Regions from separate parts of the Homo sapiens genome. Here region 1 is linked to region 2. Evidence: promoter capture Hi-C in 16 types of primary human blood cells and fetal thymus (Javierre and others, 2016). All regions are on one chromosome and are shown on one strand. Each heading gives the region's core, a stretch centred on a gene start or on the middle of the fragment in contact. The rest is flanking DNA. Distances are from core to core; before and after follow the strand shown. Region 1 overlaps ZNF512 (zinc finger protein 512). Region 2 holds the start of FNDC4 (fibronectin type III domain containing 4).

Region 1 (3,074 bases), core at 257-2,756, 110 kb after region 2:
TTTTGATAAAAGAGTTATGCACAATGAAACCTTTGCAGTGAATCCATAAATATTTGTGTGTTTAGGTTAGCTCCAAAGGTTCATATCTTGGGAGTCAGAGGCTCAGAACTCTTATTTCCATTATATTCACTTCCTTTGTCCAGGAGAAGATGGAGAACACCAGGAGTCAGAAAACTTGGGCTTCATTGGCACCAGCTTAGCTGCCAGTCCAATCCTTGATTCTCCTCTGATATTTTTTTTCCCTGTGTCTTATCTTTTCCATGAATCATCTTCTTGTTTACTTCTCTTGATTTCTAGCCCATTTTGAAAGCCGGAGATGAAATAGATGAGCCAAGTGAGAGGGAAAGGCTCCGAACAGTTCTAAAGAGACTGGGAAAGCTCAGGTGCATGCGTGAGGTAAGGGCCCAAGGACAGCAATTCCTTCTGCCTGAATTCTCAGGTCAATGTCTTTCGTTCTTCTTTCCATTTCTTCTCTTCCTCATTGTAGACTTCCTAGTTCTGTACTATCTTGGTCTCTTGAATCATTAATAGTTGTTTATTTTCTTCCTTATTTCCAAAAATTTATTTTTCTCCCCCTTCCCTTTGTTTGATGGGGTTTCCTTACCATCCTTTTTTTAATGTGATGAAGAGGATCCCAGTGACCCCTCACTGTGCTGGACTTTGGTATATATTGCTGGGTATTTGATATTGGGATGGGGTTGGATCACAGACCAAGGAGAAAGCTCTGACATAGAGTAGATGCACAGTTATAGTTTATCAAGGGCTGACTAAGCTGATTGAAAATCATGCTTGATCAGAGTAAGATGGCCAGAGACAAGGAAGGGTTGTGCTGATGGGAGATGTTGGAGAGGGTCTACTGAAATCAGAGGGTCTATTTGTATTTTGTGGTGGTGAATGCTTTATGGCTGTTTAGAAATTTAGGGATCATGTCAAAAGATGTAAGATTATAGTTTAGGCTTCTCTCCTCTGTTCAGAGTTGCTCCAGTAGCTTCACCAGCATCATGGGATATCTCTACCATGTCAGAAAATGTGGCAAAGGGGCTGCAGAGCTGGAAAAGATGACCCTGAAATGTCACCACTGTGGAAAACCATATAGGTCGAAGGCTGGACTTGCATATCACCTGAGGTCAGAGCATGGGCCTGTGAGTACTGATTCCTTTCTATACCCTGCGTGGGGATGTATTTCGTGGTGAGTCCTTACCCCTCTATCTTCCCATATGTGTTTGGTTCCTCATTTGTATCCTCTTTTAATCTCTGAATGCTTGTGTGTTGTCTCTTCTTTATTCGTTCTTTGTCCTTATTTCTGCCTTTTTAACATTATTAGGTTAGATAAATCAAAATTCAAAGTATAGTCCAGGCAGAAGTAAACTCATTATTATATATTTTATATCTTATATATTTTTATATAGTGTGTGTGTGTGTATATTTTTTTTTTTTTTTTTCTTCAAGAGACAAGATCTTGCTGTCTCAGGCTAGAGTGCAGTGGTGGGATCATAGCTCACTGCAGCCTCGAACTCTTGGGCTCAAGCCATCTTCTTGCCTCAGGCTCCTAAGTAGCCAGGACTACAGGCTTGCGTCACATGCCCAGCTAATTCTTCGTTTTTAATTTTTTGTAGAGACGGGGGTCTCATTATGTAGCACAGGCCAGTCGCAAACTCCTGGCCTCAAGTGATCCTCTTACCTTGACCTCCCAAAGTGCTGGGATTATAGGTGCGAGCCACCCTGCTCAGCCCATTATTTAATTAATTAATTAATTAATTTATGTATTTATATATTTTTGAGACAGACTTTCCCTCTGTTGCCCAGGCTGGAGTGCTGTAGAGCAATCTTGGCTCACTGTGACCTCCGCCTCCTGGGTTCAAGCAATTCTCCTACTTCAGCTTCCCGAGTAGCTGGGATTACAGGTGCGTGCCACCACGCCCAGCTAATTTTTGTATTTTTATTAGAGACGGGGTTTCACCATGTTGGCCAGGCTGGTCTCGAACTCCCGATCTCAGGTGATCTGCCCACCTCGGCCTCCCAAAGTGCTGGGATTATAGGCGTGAGCCACTGTGCCCAGCCCCATTGTTATACTTTTAAAACTAAAGGCATTCCCCCATAGCTAGAGCTTTTATGGGCATCTGTCCAGCTGGTTCCTCTCATTTTTTTGGTTTAAATTTTTTTGTTCTCATTACATTTCCAAGGTTTCCCACCCTGTGGTTTCTTTTTTTTTAGAGTCATTTGTTAAGATACAATTTACACATAGTAATGTTTACCATTTTAGTGCATAATTATAAGAGTTTTGACACATGTATACAGTCATGTAACCACTATCACACTCAACACATAGACTAGGCGGGGTGCCTTAGCTCACACCTGTAATCCCAGCACTTTGGGAAGCTGAGGTGGGTGGATTGCCTGAGTCCAGGAGTTTGAGACTAGGTTGGGCTACATAGTGAGACCCTGTCTCTACAAAAAATGAAAAAATAAGCCAGGCATGGTGGTGTACACCTGTAGTCCCAAGTACTTGGGAAACTGAGGTGGGAGGATCACTTGAGCCCAGAAGGTTGAGGCTGCAGAGCTGTGATCATACCACTGCATTCCAGCCTGGGTGACAGAGTGAGACTCTGTCTCAAAACAAACAAAAAAAAGATGTTTTACAATTCCATCACTACCTCAAGTTGACTTGTGTCCCTTTAGTCAGCCTTTTCCTCCAGCTACAGCCTCTGGCAACCACTGATTTATTTTCTGACCCTATAGTTTTACCCTTTTCAGAATGTCATATAAATTGAATCATACAGCATGTAGCCTTTCAGTCTGACTTCTTTCATTTACCATAATCCATTTGTGATTCATCCATGTGTTGCATGTATCATTAGTTTATTCCTTTTTTTTTCTGACTAGGATTTCATTATATGGATGTTTCAAGTTTGTCGTTTATCTGCTTACCAGTTGAAGAACATTTGGTTGTTTCTAGTTTTTGATGATTACGAATAAAGCTGCTATAAACATTCACAAAGGTTTTTGGGCTGGGCACAATGACTCATGCCTGTAATCCCAGCACTTTGGGAGGCTGATGCAGGTGGATTGCTTGA
Region 2 (3,046 bases), core at 52-2,551:
AGCCAGAGAATCCAATAGCACAGATCCTCACCTGGGCTTGAACTGTTTGAAGGTAGCCGGTCAGAACCCTTGAGAGTTCGGAAGTGCACCCGGGGCCCTGGGGGACTCTCTCCCCGAAGGCCGATGCTCCTGACCTGCACTGTGTAGTCACTGTCTTCAGCCAGGCCCCAGAGGGCACAGGCCCGGGTGGTGGTGTTCACCTCCCGAATCACACGCTGCCCGGGGCCATTCTGCCGCTGCAGGGAGATGAGGGGAGAGGAGGACAGCCTCACCCCAGTGCCAGGCCACAAGGCTCAACCAGAGACTCTTCAACATCCAAGCACTCCGGGGGAGTAGCGTGAAAAGGGCAGCCTGAGCCAGGATACGCCAGCTTCCAGATCCCCCCCACTTAAGTGAAGAAATGTGCCGAAATCCAAGGACACAGGTTGGGGGAGCAGAAGGGTGATTCATACTTGCTGGGAAATGGAGTAGCCAATGACGATGTTGCCTTCTGGGACGTCCCAGGACACAGTGGCCGAGTTGGCTCTGAGGTGAGTGACCGTCACATTCACAGGAGAGGGAGGCCGGTCTGCGGGAGCCAGGGTGTTTAACAGGTTTCACCCATTGACTAGCTGTGGTTGACCCTCAGCCCCGTTCCCCTTTACTTACCTGCTCGCACGAAGCCCAGGTCACAGCTGACCAGCAGGAGGACCGTGGGGCTTAGATATGGGGAAAGGGGCACCAGCGAAGCCATGTCCCCACGGAGTCCGCTGGGGGGGGAACTGTGGCATCCGCTTGGCATCCGCTTGACATCCAGGCGGGGCTCCTGGAGATGGCAGGAGTTGTGGGGGGTCAAGGACTGCCCAGAACGCACGGAGGTCGGGGGGCAGCAGCTCTCCTGGGCTCCCCACAGCTCACAACAGCCCTATTTTCTCTACGCCCTCCCGCCCCCGCATTGCCCGGGCGGCCCCAGAGTGCGGTCCGCCCTGCCCACACCCACCTCCGCCGGTCCTCGCGGTTGGTCAGGCCTCGGGGGGCTGCTCGGTGCCCAGAGGGCGGCCCATCGCCCGACTCGGTGGCGCTGCCCCTACCCCATCCCGGCGCGGGCCCGGCGACGCGGGCAGCGCGGGGCCGAGCTGCGGGCGGAGCGGGCGCGGGTCTGCGGAGCCCCCAGGGCTCGAGCGGGCCACGGAGTCTGTCCGGGAGCAGGGGGCGTTGCCCGGACGCTGGCCTGGGTCCCCGGTGCGGGAGGCAGTGCGGCGGCCTCCGCCCGCCCCTGCAGCGGGATGTGACCGTCCCGGAGAGCCAGCCGCCGCCTTCTGCAGCGCTGGCCCCGCTCGCTCCGCCGCAGCCCGGCCGGGACGCGCGGGCCCGCCCCGCCCAGCCGGGGTTCTCGCCGCCGTCATTCCCCTCCCGCCCCCTCACTCCCGTCCTCTCGGGGCTCCTCCCACGACCCTCCCAATGGCGCCTCCGGAGCCCCCATCCCTTATCCCTTCTCTCTCCCAGCTGAAGCGGACGAGTCGGCGGGGGCGTGGGGGGTGAGACGCGGGTGCTAGGGTCTCCGGCACCTGGGAGATCCCCTTCCTCCCCGCGTGGAAGAGCCAAGTTGGGAAGAGGAATTCCACCTCCAGTGCCCGAGGGGCTAACAGGAGAGGGGAGAGAGTGAGGGAGATAATAATTGCTTTAACAATCCCTTACTTGTAGACTGCGTCAGCTTTTAAGTCTCTTTTCCATTCATAATCTCATTTAATTCCGTTCGCTTTCTCATTCATTCTTTCATTTATTCACCAAATATTTATTGAGCATCTCCTATGTGTCTGGCATTATATTAAAACCTGGAGATACAGTGATTGTTAAGAGTGTTGGGCTTCTCGGGAGAATCAAAGCGCAAAGACCTATGGCTTTTTTAAAAAAATTATTATTCCTTTCTTTTCTTTTTTTGTTTTTCTAAAGCTCTACCACTTACGGTGTGGTTTTGGAGAAACTGGTTTATCTGTGCTTCAGGTTTCCCACCTGTAAAGCAAAGCGTGTGAAATCTCACAGGGTTGTTGTGAGGCTCAAATGAGACGGGAAAGATCTTTATAAATCTCACAACACTATGTGACTGGATGATGGAGATTAATTTGCACCAATCTGTTAGTTACTTCTTTGTTCAATAACATGTAAGCCCTTACATTATATCATGCTTTGGTTGAGCTTGAAATCTGAATTGAGAACCTGGGTGTGAGTCCCAATTTGTCCAGCTGTGTGATCTTAAGCAACCAACTAAACTACTCTGAGCCTGTTTCATCATCTGAAAAATGAGGGTGTCAATATTGACCAACATCTTAGTGTTGGTGTATCCAATGAGATACTGTCTGTGAAAAGTGTGTTGTTCAGTGTAAATAAATGTTGGCTAACATTGTATTTAGGGCAGATTCTTTGGTTTCTAATTCTCAATGCAGTATTTCTGTTTCTGTGGGATTTTTCCCGCTGTAATATCCAGTACAGTGTGTGCACACTTGGGGCTCAGAAGCTTCTACTGCCTTCCTTTCTGAGAGGAGAGGATAAAATGGGACCAGTGGGACTGACTGTGTGTGCTGAGCATGTGATCAAGCCATGGGCCAGGTCCTCTGACTTGTGCTGACTTGGTGACCCTGATCTCTGGCCTCGGAGGACACTTGCCCAGGGATTCTCACTGCCGTGGGTGTTGTCCTGCACTCCCAGGCTCCAGGTCCTCTGTAGAAGAGGGCATTGTCCCGGTAGGGCAAGAGTCCCGAGCCTCAGGTCTTCCTCTTCAGGGGCCAAAGCAGAGGCTGGCGAGTCAGGGTGCTTGCAAAGAGGAAGCCCAGGAGTTTCCCTGGGGTTACCAGAGGGCTGGGGGCCTAGTGACCAGGAAAGGGTGGTGCTCTGAGAGCCCAGGGTGCTTGGGTTAATCATCACTGGGGCTCAGATAAGGCCCTGCCAACTGGAAGCAGAGTCATTGTGACCAGAGGGGTTTGTGTGGCTGAAGAGGCAGGAGGAACAGTGTATCCACAGCGTGGGACCATGCCAGGCACAAAACGGTTTCAACATGTCATTGAGACCC

Evidence for each region. The method cuts DNA at HindIII sites, captures the fragments that hold promoters and counts their contacts. A CHiCAGO score of 5 or more calls a contact.
Region 1: a contact is called between a fragment that was not itself captured here and the fragment with the promoter of FNDC4 in region 2, in 1 of 17 cell types (endothelial precursors). The highest score is 5.7, in endothelial precursors.

The regions. Positions count from the first base shown.
Region 1 is chr2:27,602,166-27,605,239 of GRCh38, forward strand. It overlaps ZNF512 (zinc finger protein 512), which reads left to right. Exons shown (of 14, transcript NM_032434.4): 8 at 298-396; 9 at 975-1,142. Among named protein-coding and RNA genes, the nearest start is that of ZNF512, 21 kb to the left of the region's middle. The HindIII fragment of the contact is 8,004 bases long and covers 1-3,074 here.
Region 2 is chr2:27,493,899-27,496,944 of GRCh38, forward strand. FNDC4 (fibronectin type III domain containing 4) reads right to left here and starts at 1,302. Exons shown (of 7, transcript NM_022823.3): 1 at 980-1,302; 2 at 649-805; 3 at 453-568; 4 at 32-236. The coding sequence starts at 781. It overlaps GCKR (glucokinase regulator), which reads left to right and starts at 2,941. Exons shown (of 19, transcript NM_001486.4): 1 at 2,941-3,046. The coding sequence starts at 3,007. The HindIII fragment of the contact is 2,667 bases long and covers 1-2,492 here.